Linked DNA regions of Homo sapiens: region 1 is linked to region 2. Evidence: promoter capture Hi-C in 16 types of primary human blood cells and fetal thymus (Javierre and others, 2016). All regions are on one chromosome and are shown on one strand. The core of a region is centred on a gene start or on the middle of the fragment in contact, and the rest is flanking DNA. Distances in the headings are between cores, read along the strand shown.

Region 1 (6,961 bases), core at 4,195-6,694, 950 kb before region 2:
CCAGACGGGGTGGCGGCCGGGCAGAGGCTGCAATCTCGGCACTTTGAGAGGCCAAGGCAGGTGGCTGGGAGATGGAGGTTGTAGCGAGCCCAGATCACGCCACTGCACTCCAGCCTGGGCACCATTGAGCAATGAGTGAATGAGACTCCGTCTGCAATCCCGGCACCTCGGGAGGCCGAGGCTGGCGGATCACTCGCGGTTAGGAGCTGGAGACCAGCCCGGCCAACACAGCGAAACCCCGTCTCCACCAAAAAAATATGAAAACCAGTCAGGCGTGGCGGCGCGCGCCTGCAATCGCAGGCACTAGGCAGGCTGAGGCAGGATAATCAGGCAGGGAGGTTGCAGTGAGCCGAGATGGCAGCAGTACAGTACAGCTTCGGCTCGGTATCAGAGGGAGACCATGGAAAGAGAGGGAGAGGGAGAGGGAGACCGTGGAAAGAGGGAGAGGGAGAGAGGGAGAGAGGGAGAGGGGGAGAGGGAGAGCGTGTCTCCTTCCTTTGTTGGCTGGGTAGTAATTCTGTCCAAGATAGGGATATTTTCTAAGATGTGCATTGTTACATAATTTTGTTGTTGTTCAAACATTATAGGGTGAACTTACACAAACCTATATGATATAGCCTGCTACATACCTAGGCTGTATGGTAGAGCCTGCTGCTCCTAGCCTACAAACCTGTACAGCATGTTACTGTACTAAATATTGTCAGCAATTGTAGCACAATAAGTATTTGTGTATCTAAACATATCTAAACATAGAAGAGGTACAGTAAAGAGATCATATAAAAGATTAAAAATGATCCACCTATATAAGACATTTGCCGTGAATGGAGCTTGCAGGACAGGAAGTCGCTCTGGGTGAGTGAGTGGTGAGTGAATGGGAAGGCCTAGGACATTATTACTGTGCACTACTGTAGACTTGATGAACAAATAGATTTAGTGTAGCCTATTTTTTCTTTGATAATAAATTAACCTTAGCTTACTGTACCTTTTTTACTTTATAGACTTTTTATCCTTTTTTTAACTTTTTGATTTTTTTTTTGAGACAGTCTCACTCTGTCCCCCAGGCTGGAGTGCAGTGGCACAATCTTAGATCACTTCAACCTCCACCTCCTGGGTTCAAGCTATTCTCCTGCCTCAGCCTCCCAAGTAGCTGGGACTACAGGCACCTGCCACCACACCTGGCTAATTTCTGTATTTTTAGTAGAGACAGGGTTTCACCATGTTGGCCAGGCTGGTATCAAACTCCTGACTTCAAATATCCACCCACCTTGGCCTCCCAAAGTGCTGGGATTACAGGCATGAGCCACCGTGCCTGGCCAACTTTTTGACTCTTTTATAACACAGCTTAAAACACATTGTACTGCTATACACAAATAATTTATTTGTATCCTTATTCTGTATGCTTTTTTTCTAATGTTTTTTCTTACTTTTAAAACTTTTCTTAGTAAAAACTAAGACACAAACATCCACATTAGCCTAGGCCTACACAGGGTCAGGATCATAATATCACTGTCTTTCACCTCAACGTCCTGTCCCACTGGAAGGTCTTCAGGGGCAAAAACATGCATGGAGCTGTCATCTCCTATGATAACAATGCCTTCTGAAGGACCTGCCTGTCCTGTGTTATAGCTAACTTTTTTTAATAAGTAGAAGGATTACACTCAAAAATAATGATAAAAATATAGTATAGTAAATATATAAACCAGTAATGTAGTATTTATTATCATTCTCAAGTATTATGTACTGTACATAATTGTATGTGCTATACTTTTATATGACTGGCAGTGCAGTTGGTTTGTTTATACCAGCATCACCACAAACATATAATGCATTGCACTGTGATGTTGGAATGGCTACGATGGCACTAGGTGATTGGAGTTTTTCAGCTACACTATAACCTTATGAGACCACTTTTGTATATGAGGACTGTCATTTACTAAAACGTCATTGTGTGACATGTGACTGTATTGCACATCTCACTTACCTTTTTTTCTATATGTCTTTCTGTTAAAAGCATCCCATTTTTTTTTTACAAAGCACTAGCCTCACGATCCCAACGTGACTCTAGTCACATGTGCATGAGAGAGTAGGTTTGTTTTCTCTTCTTCCTCCACTAACGTGTATACAAGCCTTGTTAATCAACACCTGTGCATTCTCTGAGGGGCTGTTCTGTGCGTGCTAAGGTGCTGCCAATGCCCCCCACCATGGATGGAGGGACAAAGAGGTGCCAGGCTCTGCTTGGTCCCCTGTCCAACTTTTAATAAACCAGGTCCAAAAATGAGCAACCTCTGACCACCACAAAATGCTCTGCCCAGCCATCTGCGTGGGGCTTGGGTCAGAGTCTCCTTGAAAATAAACAGGTGTCCTCATTCCAAGGGCCTTTAAAAAAGTCAGGCTGTGGCCCAAGGAAAACAAGGCCAAATATCTCAGAGGTTTATAATTCATTTTGTCACTTGGCCTTGTTAGTCTGGTTTGCAGGGGGAGCTCTGTGTGGGAAACAGGGCTGAGTTAATCAGAGGCAGACACCGAGGCCGACCACATGCAAAGGAGAAGCAAGAGAAGAGGAGGACAGAAAAATTTCCAGTATTTCCAAATGTGGGTGAAGCTAATCTTTCAGAGAAGGAAAAGTATGCATAATGTGGTGTGTCATTCCTGATTTGTAAAATGCTTGCACATGTGAATCATAATTCAATTAGATGGGGACAGTGACAGGCATCCTGGACTTGGAGTCAAAAGACCCTCATTCACCTTCAAGCTCTGCTACTTTTCTGAGCTCACTCACCTTAGACAATTTCCTTCAGGCCTCCCTGCCTCCAAGCTTCCTACCTCCCCCAGTCCAGCCTCAACATTGCCATTTGATCTCTTTTTCTTAAACACAAATTAGATCATGTCACTCTCCCGCTCAAAACCCTTTTTCACTCCCCCTGGAATAGAACCCAGCTCCTGGGAAGCACAGTAGAAGGCCTTCCACGATGAAGCAACCTCACCCCTGCACTATCCTTGCCTCACCTGCCAGCTCAGGTAGCACAGACCTGCTGTACTGCGAGTCCCCCAGCCTCTTGCTTTTGCTTATGCGATTCTACCAGGACAACCCTGCCCACTGCTTTATCTGATAAGCAGTTTGCACAAGCGACTTCTCCCCTGAGAACGCTTCCTAACCAGCACCCACAGCAAAGCTCCTCAAGCAATTAGCGTGCCACCCTGCCCTTGTAAAGCCCATACTGCAATCATCTGTTTATATGCACGGTTGCAAGATTTTGCTTATAAAAATAATGATAATAATAGATGCCCAGTTAACTGCTTTAGCATATATGGGACACACACACACACAAATTCCGTGTTAACCTGAAATTCAAATTTAACTGGGCATATGTTCATATGGCTTGTCCCTACTAGACTGGGTCACTGAAAATAGAGACTGAGACATCTTCATAGCCTTGGTACCCACAACATGACTGACTTACAGCAGGGGCTTGGGAAATACTTACTTTAGAGTTTTTAGCCTTAAAGTTACTAATCTTACAGGAAAATGAATAAACACTCCACTCACTTTTTATTTGCCTTCTTCAGTGAGATCTACATTAAGTGAGATCTAGGTTTTGCAGAAGGCTAAAGGTCACCCTTCTGCAAAATCTAGATTGCAGTTTCCAGACTGTCCGGCTCCAACCTGCCATGAGCCCCTGCGGACGCTAGATGGCGGAATGGGTTAAGGGACTAGCCCTGCTCTGGGGTCCGGGCGCCCCTATATAAAAGCAGGCGCTTCCTCTGCCGCAGAGCCCTGCATTATTGATTGTGACGCTGCCGCAGAGGTGGGAGGAGCCCGCCGCCATCTCGCCAAGTCTGCAGTATCGGGAACATGGCTTTAGGATCCTTTTCTCTCTCTGCAAAAAGTCCCTCGATAGCTGGAAAGAGAGAGCTCTCTGTGGCCCACATGATTGTTTTCATTCATAGGAAGATCAGACCTTCCCATAGTCAGAATCATTTTTATTTCACATTGTCATTCTGAATAGCGGCACCAAAGAATAGCAGCTGTACTTTCTGAAAGCCACTGATTTGAATCGGCACCTATCGTAAAATATTACCGCGTCACTGAAAGGCAAAATAGTCGGGGGCGGTGGGGGAAATTCATCATCTCTTTAGGTTTCTCAGTTACAAAACATTCTTATAAAAATAGATGAAAGTACTACGGACGTAAAATAGTTTCATGATATTTAAAACCACGGCCGTATTTTCAACCAGCATTCATTGGAACCGGAATCTGTATCTTGGAACTGAAAAGCGCTGATCTGAAACTAAACCGTGGGTGGGGCCCTGACGCCGTCCCCTCCGTGGCACCCTTCCCTCCGGGCCAGCAGAGGGCGCTCAACGGGCAGTCAAAGGGGCTCTCGCAGGAGTCCTGCCTATACAAACATTTTATTTTAGCAGGGAACTGAGTTGTCTATTTACTCACCAGTGTTTTTATTTAGCCAATGCCTTTCTTTGAATATAGATGTGCTGATTAGAGTGCTGTATTGTTCCCTCTCTTTATGAGCCACACATATAATGCATCCTCCATGTTGTCTCATTTGAGTTTCCTTTGTGAAATGAGAATTTAGAGACAGTGTAAAACATCTTGACTAAAGAATCTTAGATTCTGTACTCATAACCATCAAATATAATTCAACAACACATTTAAAGCAGCTTTTCCTGTTGAATCTTTCCCAAGCATTTTGCTTTTTCTTTCCATTGGAAATATCTTTCTTCATGTATCTGTGTATCATCAGTTTTAGTAATATTTGCTCAAATTAATATTTGCTCAAATTGTGTCGTTATCGGGATACAATTAAGTGGAATGAACAGATTAGGAAAGAGGCAAACAACACACTGGGCCTACTAAAGAGGAGCCTCCTCTCCTACCAGCTGTGAGCTCTCAGTGAGCTCAGGGTGTGTTCGTATGTTCCACGAAAGAAACTAAGAGTTAATTAATCTGTCCTGGTACGCGGAGGTCAATCAAGACAGTTTCCACCTGAATTCAGAAAGGTTACATCATTGTTTAAAAGAAATACACACACACACACACACACACACACACACACACACACACCACTTTTCCAAATCCACATGTAATGTAATTGAATCAACTGCTAAATCAAATGCTGTCTTAAGACTTGACAGAACAAAACTGAGCTCACGCTTACACACACTAGGACTGTTAATTGATGAGGCTCATCCACAAAAGACTCTCCAAAGTGAATCTCGTGTCACAGTTTCAGAGTGTGGAAAGCAACTCTTCAGTCCTGGATGATGGCTTTCAGAATGCCATCTGTGTCCTGTGCATGCCAGGCACACAGACACTGCCCTTACCTGCCCCTCAGGTTTTATGTCCAAAGTTAGTATGTCCACCTTCAGTAAGCAAGAATATCAGTTCTTAAACTCAGGTTCACAATAAATATATTTTTAGAATCCCTTAAATCAAGTCGCATGTAACTCCAAGTCCCCCTTTTATTGAGCTGTTGGACAGCTGAATCATAATCATTATTGGGCACCTCCTCCATCCTGGTTTGGGTCAGGGTTCCAGGTCCCTGCAGCCCACAGGCAATGGTTCCTTCAGGTTTGACAATCCTGCTATTTCAGTACCAGCCTTGGGTCATGAGAACATTGGTGCACTGGAAGATGCTGCATCTAGGGACCAATCTCCCTGGCTGGAGTCGCTGCTAGGGATATCTTGGCACCTCCCCAGCCCAGCACACTGCCAAGGAGAGGTGAGCAGCTCCCATTCTCACAGGACCTCTGACCAGTCTTGGGGGAGGAGAATCTCTTCCAGCCACCTAGCTGCTCCAAAAATGTGCCACTTCCTCCTCCCACTCTAGGAATTTACTGTAAACGGTAGTATCAGCTGTAAACCCTTTCAAACAAGATGGTGCCACCATCCCCACCCCCATTCCCAATAAAACTAAGGAGCTGCAGAAACTAAATGTGTGGATTGGCACTGCATGGGAAAAAGTTCTGTTCTAATGGGACAACGTAATGCTAAAGATTCAAAGCCACTTTGATCAAAAACATTCTGTCTTTTCTGGACAGTTACAAAAAGAGGAAAGATGGAAACTTTCCCACCATGGAGAACATGGGAGCTCTGTTTTGGGGCTCTTGAAGCATTTCCATGTATAAACACTTTGTTTTGTTAGCCAGCATTTTCGGTTCATGCATTCCTTCAGTCCCACCTCTAATTAAGCAAAGGCATTAAATTTTTAGTATCAGTAATAAATATCCCTTCCACCCCCCAAAAATGTTTATTACAATTATATGTTTTTTCTGCTACTGAAAAGGAATAACTTAAGTTTATGTGATGTAAATGTTGGCTTTGAGAAAATGAATAGGGAAGTGAGTCAGGAAGCAATCAACAGGAAGCATAATGGTGGGAAAGAAAGCTGGGACTCACAACCCCTGAGATCTGGAGGGTGAATGCAGGTCACCGGGCCACTTCCTTTAGGGAGCTCATTATTTCAGAGACAGCACACCATTGTTGGAACCCTGTGTAGCAGCACTGTCTAGCAGAACTTTCAGCAATTATGGAAATATTCTATAATATAGAACTATAATGTGCTGTTGAGCATTTAAAATATGGTCAGTGTGAATGAGGAACTACATTTTTTATTTTATTTAATTTTAATTAATTTAAGTTTAAATAGTCATAAGTGGCTAGTAGCTGCCATGTTGATAGCATAACTCTGAAGTCTTTTTTCTTTTTTAATCCATAATTTATCCCTCACATATTTCCATAAATGTTTTTGTAAGCTAAGACAGCTTACAAAAAAATCAAGCACAGTATAAAACAGGAGAATTAAATTTTTTTTAATGATTGAAAAAAATAGTAAAAGAAGAGGAAAGCTCTGTAAAATAGAGCAGAGAACTAGATGCTCCCAGACACATGGAATGAGTCAGTGCCTTTGAAAATTAAATTTATTTCTAAATTGCTGGAAAGTAA
Region 2 (7,878 bases), core at 2,913-5,412:
TGCCTAGAAACATTGTCCTGCTGTGGATCAATCTAAAAGTTCTTCAAAGGAAACCCCAGACTTTTGCTTGAACGGCATATGGAAGTATCTTGTTCTTCTATGGAAGTCTCTCTACACTTCAGAAATATAGTTTGAGACATTAATAATTTGCAATTGTTTATTCACCACAAAGTAGGACCAAGAAACAGGGACCCTTCTTTCTAATCCCAGAATGCATGGTAGAGCACTCAACCAATCACTAACACTTAAATTAATCAACAACATAAAAAACATCGTATTTGCAGAATGTTATCTAGTCAATGCAATATGATGAATGATTAAAACCCAGCTCCTGGTGCTTGCTTCAGCAGCACTTTGAACAACAATCTACTAAAATTGGAATGACACAGAGAAGATTAGCGTGACCCCTGAACAAGGATGACATGCAAATTCATGAAGCATTCCATATTTTAAATAAATAAATAATTAAAATAAAAATCCCAGCTCTTAGAGTCAGATAAGCCTGGGGTTGAATTCTGGCTCCACTTCTTACTTAAACTCTGTAAGCCTGAGTTCCCATATCTGAAAAGAAAGATATTAACAAAGTCTATCAGAGAATCGTGGTAAGGTTTAAATAGGAACGCATCTAAAGTGCTTAGCCACAGGAAAGTACTCAAGAAATGCGCACCATCATTTGGAGACCTAGATTCCATTCCACCACCACCTCCCTGTATATCCTTAGGCTAGTCACTTGCTATAAAGAAGTAATGGAAACAAGGAGACAGAACTAGCTGTACTCTAACACCAGGATTATCCATCATGAGTACGGTAATAGAAAATAGACCAAAACTTTGAAAAATAAAAGGCTTAAACAAATTCCAGATATTTTTTGGCATGTATTTGAAGCTTGCATATGCTTGATCACAGACGACTCAGCATTCGAATATCAAAGTGAAAAAGTGTGACCAATCAAACTTCAAAGCAGATATTCTCAAATAACAGTGACTGTGGTAGATGAGGGACTTCATGAAACACCTTTGTGTGTGTGTGTGTGCACTGAAGGAAAGAGAAAGGGGTAGGGGACAGGGGAAGAGAGAGAGATCTCAACAATAACTGGCTTAAAGACTATCTTGTAACCATTTTTTCAGCACTAAGTTTAAATCTGTTTTCTTCCTCAGCCCTTAACATCTATCAGTCATATATGTATTACCTAGCACCCAAGTAATGGCCATTGTTCAATCTAGATGCTGTGTTATACAGGGCCATTACAAGTGCATAGGGCCCTTCTGTAGGAATCAGACAAAGGGCACCCAGAGCCCAGGCTGGTTTTCAGTCCCCACTTACCCCTGAGTTGGGCACCCTTGTGCAATGGCACAACCATAAATAGATATACAGCAGTCAGGCAGAGAAACACAAAGATCTTCACACATTTAACTAGCACACCTGTGCAACTGTTTATATGATATATACCCACACATACACAAACATGACTGAAAAAGTTGTCAAAGACTGAACTGAGTAAAAAGAAAAAAGATATTCATCAAAATGGAAAACACAAAGTTCCACAGAGTGCAAAAGAAAAACCAGGTTCCTTCCCTCACTCTCAGCTACCCAGTATTGGGATATTGTGTAGCCAATTAGAACTTTGGGGACAAGTAGTAGGTAGAGACTTTGACACTGCAAAATTCTCATCCCTGGCAAAGCTATGGTCTCTCTGGCAATTGCTCTCTCTCTCTCTCAAAAAAAAAAAAAAAAAAAAAAAAAAAAAAAAAAAAAACCCACCCACAGACACCAAAGGATCTACTTAACTGAATTTGCAAAAACAATGATAAACAAAAGACTGCTGTTATCTTGACTGCATTAAAAAATCTGTAATCCCAGGCAGGAATATGGTAAATGTTGGAACTAGTCTTTAAATGTTAACTCTGTCAATTCTGCCTTCTTTTGGGGCTTTTCTCTCTGACACCCAATACTCATATAGAAAAGACAACAAACTATTTTTGTTTGCTATTATATATGCATATCTCCCCTGCTAAACTTTACAATGATTACTTCCCTTAAATGGTAAGGATATGTTACTACATTTTTAACACTTTTTGTACCTAGCCCATTGACCCGCATACCACAGCAGTTTCAATAGCTATTTAAAGAACAGAAATTCCAGGTTAAAATGGTACCGTATTCACATGCATAACGAGAGTGTACAAGAATATTCATTGCAGCATTGTTTAGAATGAGTTTGGAAGCAATCTAAATGCCCATCAGAGGGAGAATGCATAGAGTATAATATAGTCAAACAATGCAAACCACCTAAGTTAAAATGGAAAGAATTTGAGTTATCAGTTCACACTGAGGTATTATGTGGATAAGTCACAAACATGATGCGGAATGGAAGAAAAGTAAGTTGCAGAATGATACAAATAGTTTAATAGTATTTATGTCAGGTTTTAAAACTCTCAGCATAACCCAGCATTACCTTTGTCTCAGAATTTATTACAGTCTTGCCCATTCCTCATATGCATACTAAAGACCTAAGAAATATTCACTCTAAAAATAATAGAAAATCAAGGTTAAAAAAAAAGACTATTAATCATATAAAGTTACCCCAAATGATGGGGAGGGAGGTTGATTTAGTAATGGAAATCACTTAGCCCTTGAAGTCAGTTGATATGTGTTTTATTGCCATTCTACTACCCACCAAGACACTTTCACTGAGCTACAGTTTTCTCACCCAAATGGGGTTGACCGCGCTCACCTTGCAGGATAAAGTGAAAGAATTTATGTTAAAGTGTCATGCAGAAGGTCTTAGATTTGTTTTTTGCCTAACCAGCCAAAAAGTCATAATAATGCTCTACAGGGAGAAAACGCTGAATCTGCACCTTTTGTATCTAATTTACTATATGGTTAAAAAAAAATGTCAAAAAACACAACAGGAAGAGGGAAGAAGCAACCCTTCACCTTCCTCATCCTAGTCCCTAATCCGGCTGCCTCCCGTGTTTTCTACATTTAACCCAGAGGGCAAAAAAAGGCGGGGGGACGGGAACGCACGGAACCGTGACTCTTGCAGGGCCCCCTTTGGAACTCCAGTGACCTTCGTACAAATCTCTTTCATTCCTCCAAACTCCACCCCCCGCCCCGCCAACATACGCACACCCCTCTGCGGCCCAGGGAGGCAGGTGAAGAACTACATAACTGGCATAGTCACGAAAGAGACCACAAAAATGACAGGGCGATGACTGGGGTTGAAGGTTCTGGGGTTCTGTTTGTTTTCAAACAATAAAAGGAAGGGCTCCTGTGGACTGTTAGCGTCTGCTCTGCTGAGGGGAAAGGAGGACGATCTCGGCAAGTAAGTTCTGCGACCTGCTTGCAAACACACAGCTCTGCAGCTGGATTCCATATAAAGACGGGCACCCCGAGGCCCCAGAAGCGGCAGGCTCTGTCTGCAACTCGAAAGACCCCCCTGCTCGCACCCTCTGGCACAGGGACCCACCGACATGCACACTCGGAGGCAGACACAGCCCACACGCGGGATGCGCTCGGGGGCCCCACGCGGGTCGCCCAGGCTGGCCTCGGCGGGCGCCGCGCCTCACCTGTCTTAAAGACCATCTTGTCATCGTCTTTGGAGCCGAAGGTTTCCAGCATGGACACGAAGAGCACCCCGCAAGCGTTCTGGATGCCGAACACCGACCCGTTGCACCACATGGCCGCCAGCATCACCAGCCAGCCCCAGCCGCCCTCGGGGGGTTCGGGGGGCTCATGGGGCTCCGCGGTCGCCGGCCCCGCCAGCTCCACCTCCACCTTCTCGACAGCCGCCTCGGGGCTGTCCGAGGGTCCCGGGCCGGGCGGCGGAGCGGCCCCCGTGGGCGCGGGGCCGAGCGGCTGCGCCTCGCTCGTGCCCCGCGCGGAGTCCGGCTCCTCCTGGGAGAGCACCATGGCCCGAGGCGGGCCCCTCAGGCGCCGGAGAAGCGCGAGGGACGCGAGTTACCAGCGGGCTCCCGGAGGAGCTGCGGGGCTCCTGGCGGGCTAACGAGGCCGAGGCGAGGGCGGCGGAGCCCCTGGCGGGCGGGCGGGCTGGCAGCGCGCAGGCGGCCAGCGCGCAGGCGGCCGCGAGGACAGCTGGCGCGCGCGAACACCTCGGGGATCGACACTGAAGCCTCTAGGTCACAGCCCCGCACCCCCGACTGAGCCCACTGCCAGCCGCCGGTTCTTAAAAGCACCCCCCGCCCCGCCGGCTGGGGGCGTGGCCGGGAGCGGGACGTGCCCCCACAGCCTCCAGATGATTGGGCCTCGGAGAGCGGAGGCGGGGCGCCCCGCGGCGCGCGGCCCCAGGTGCCCGCGGCAGACGCTGTCTGCGCGCGCGTCTGCGACGGGGCCTCCTCCTGCTCAGAGAGGGGCACAGATGTGTGGGTCACCCCGCCTCAAAGCATGAGCAGAAGGGGCGCGTCTCCTAGGTGCGGGCGCGGTGGGCCTTCAGGAGAGCCACACTGGATCGTTAGCCTCAACTCACCGACACAGCGTCACAGTCACACTAACATTGTCTCGATTGTGTTTGTTTTATGTTTTGGCATTCACCTCTCAGTACTAATTATAATATGTAAGATTCGTTATGCCACCTGGCTTCTTAAATAAGTCATCTGAAGGATCAGAGCCCTTATTTTATTACTTCAGTTCCATTCTCTTGCATTCGTATACAATTTCCTTATGAATATTTGGCACACCAAAGATGCTTATTTTCAGTCCTCACTGGACTGCAATTCCGAAGTCTTCAACCAACAAACATTTTTAACAGACAGCTAGAAAGCATTACTTTTCAACTACATCAGAGTCGTTTTCACTTTAAACAAAAACTAAAACCTGTATTCAACTCCTCTGTCTCCCTGAAGCATGGAGTGCCATCCTATGTAAAAGAAAAGAAGAGTAACCTGCTATGCAATATTGAGGATGCTTCTTAATTTCTGTTATTCGTATTCTTCACTTCAATCAAAGTCAAAATATGCTAGTTACTTGATGTGCCCACCACTGTGATAGAGTACACAGATGAGTGCGATTGATCTCGTTTCTGCCTCTTATCAGTTGATAAACTGGTAGGAAAAAAGAGTCCTGGGAGAGACTAGGAGGCTCAGATGATGTGTTATAATACATGTACAAAAGAGAGAGATGAGATAGTCCCTTAAATTCTCTCCAAACACTGTAGAAGAGCCTCTACAGCAAACAGCCTTTGGCCGAAGCCCTGATTCATACATACGACTTCAGTGGGTCAAGACAGGAAAAGAGCATTCCAGGTAGAGAAAATAGCATAAACTAAGGAAAGCAAGCCGTGCTTGGTTGTGGAATGGGGAACATAGCTCAAGTGTAATCTGCCTTAGAAATGAGGGTAAAATAGTAAACAAAGGAATAGGCACATAAGTGCACAAAAATGTATGTATGAAGATGATACCCCAGTATTGTTGGAAATAAGGAAAATTTGGAAGTATAATGTACATTGGTAGAAGACTGATTAGATACTTACTTTAAAACCTCTAAAAGTTCTGAAGGTCATCTGTATTTATTGACTTTGAAAGTTGTCCACAACATATTATTGGGCAAAGAAAGCACATCGATTATATATTTGCATGCACACAAACAAACACATATGTAAGAATTATCCACGAGTCAGTACTGATGTAAGTAAATGATTAAATAAATAATGAGGAGAGAATAGACAAATCTCTCCTGCAGGAAATGTAAATACTTTATGAACATACTCCCTCCCTCATGGAGGTGAAGTACAATGGTTTACTCTTTAAGTGTGGGTATGCGTAGTAACTTTCTTCCAAAGAGTATAGGATGGAAAGGGGGAGTGGGGGGAAGAAATAACTTTAGGGTGCAAAAAATGGCACACAGTACCTCAACTAGATGATAATGTATCCCCGATATGATGTGATGAAAATGGTACTTTACCTCTGTGGTCTTCCTGCCAAAACCCATAATCCCTGGCTAACCATCAGAAAAACATTAGACAAATCCCAATCAAGGACAGTCTACAAAATACCCATTAAGTACTTTCATTACTGTAAAAGTCATCAAAAACAAGGAAAGTCTGAGAAACTGTCACAGTAAAAAAGAGTCTAAGAGGGCTGGGTGTCGTGGCTCATGCTGGTAATCCCAGCACTTTGGGAGGCCGAGGCGGGCGGATCACTTGAGGTCAGGAGTTCGAGACCAGCCTGGCCAATATGGCGAAACCCCATCTCTACCAAAAATACAAAAATTAGCCAGGCATAGTGGCGTGGGCCTGTAATCCCAGATACTCAGGTGGCTGAGGCAGGAGAATCGCTTGAACCCAGAAGGCAGAGGTTGCAGTGAGCTGAGATCGCGCCACTGTACCCCAGCCTGGGTGACAGTGAGATTCCAACTCAAAAAAAAAAAAAAAAGCCTAAGAGACATGATAACTAAATGTAATGTGATATCCTGGATGGATACTGGAACAGAAAAAGGACATTAGATTAAAAGTAAAGAAATATGAACAAAATGTCGGCTTTAGTTAATAATAATGTATCAACATTGGGTCATTAATTGTAACAAATGAGGCAAGGTGTGGTGGCTCAAGCCTGTAATCCCAGCACTTTGGGAGGCTCAGGTGGGAGGATGGCTTGAGGCCAGGAATTCGAGATCAGCCTGAGCAACATTGCTGAGACCAGCAACCAGGCTGGTCTCGAACTCCTGGCCTCAAGCAACATAAGTAATAATCCATCTCTTTAAAAAAAGAGTGTTTACTTCTAACTACCAATAGGCTATTGAATGGAGCAGAGTTTTAGGTGTCCAGGAAAACTACCTTCTATTTCTATGTCCACACTAATCAACAACTCACATTGTGTTATTGGATTGACCTCATCTTCTCCACCTGAAAATATGAACCTGTTTACTTATAACTACAGCATAGTGACATAGTGATGGTATTTTTTTTTTTTCCTGAGATGGAGTCTCACTCTGTCACCAGGCTGGAGTACAGTGGCCCAATCTCGGCTCACTTCAACTTCCACCTCCCGGGTTCAAGCGATTCTCCTGCCTCAGCCTCCTGAGTAGCTGGGACTACAGGCGTGCACCACCACACCCAGCTAATTTTTGTATTTTTAGTAGAGATGGGGTTTTACCATGTTGGCCAGGGTGGTCTCGATCTCTTGACTTCGTAATCTGCCTGCCTTGGCCTCCCAAAGTGCTGGGATTACAGGCATGAGCCACCATGCTCAGCGCAGTGATGGTATGTTTTTAATGAGTTCCTATTTATTAAGTGCTTTGAGATCAGATAAAAAGATTTATAAAATTTTAAAAGGTGTAATAGTTCATTAAATCTAAATGCCAACAGTGCTTTATGTAGGCCTTTTCATCAGCAGTTTATGTTAAACTTATTTATTAAACAAAACAATCCACTTGATTCCTTATTCTATTTCAAAAGACCAACCTTTCCTATTTAGGACAGTCTTATTTATTTATTTTTATTTTGTTTTATTTTATTTTTGAGACAGAGTCTCGCTCTGTCACCCAGGCTGAAGTGCAGTGGTAAGATCTCGGTTCACTGCAACTCCACCTCCTAGGTTCAAGTGATTCTCCTGCCTCAGCCTCCCAGGATGGTCTTGATCTCCTGACCTCATGATCCGCCTGCCTCTGCCTCCCAAAGTGCTGGGATTACAGGTGTAAGCCACTGTGCCTGGCCCTTTTTTTTTTTTTTTTTTTTGAGACAGAGTCTCTCTCTGTCCCCGAGGCTGGAGGGCAGTGGCACAATCTCAGCTCACTGCAACCTCTGCCTCCTGAGTTCAAGTGATTCTCCTGCCTCAGCCTCCCAAGTAGCTGGGATTACAAGCACGTGCCACCACGCCCAGCTATTTTTTGTATTTTCAGTAGAGACAAGGTTTCACCATGTTG

The links. The method cuts DNA at HindIII sites, captures the fragments that hold promoters and counts their contacts. A CHiCAGO score of 5 or more calls a contact.
Region 1: a contact is called between a fragment that was not itself captured here and the fragment with the promoter of SLC16A10 in region 2, in 1 of 17 cell types (fetal thymus). The highest score is 5.2, in fetal thymus.

The regions. Positions count from the first base shown.
Region 1 is chr6:112,040,579-112,047,539 of GRCh38, reverse strand. No RefSeq gene overlaps it. Among named protein-coding and RNA genes, the nearest start is that of CCN6, 10 kb to the left of the region's middle. RefSeq lists a silencer at 3,676-3,775. The HindIII fragment of the contact is 5,253 bases long and covers 2,818-6,961 here.
Region 2 is chr6:111,083,787-111,091,664 of GRCh38, reverse strand. SLC16A10 (solute carrier family 16 member 10) reads right to left here and starts at 4,162. Exons shown (of 6, transcript NM_018593.5): 1 at 3,570-4,162. The coding sequence starts at 3,912. It also overlaps the pseudogene RNU6-960P. RefSeq lists silencers at 3,592-3,771, 3,802-4,481 and an enhancer at 3,279-3,779. The HindIII fragment of the contact is 14,016 bases long and covers 888-7,878 here.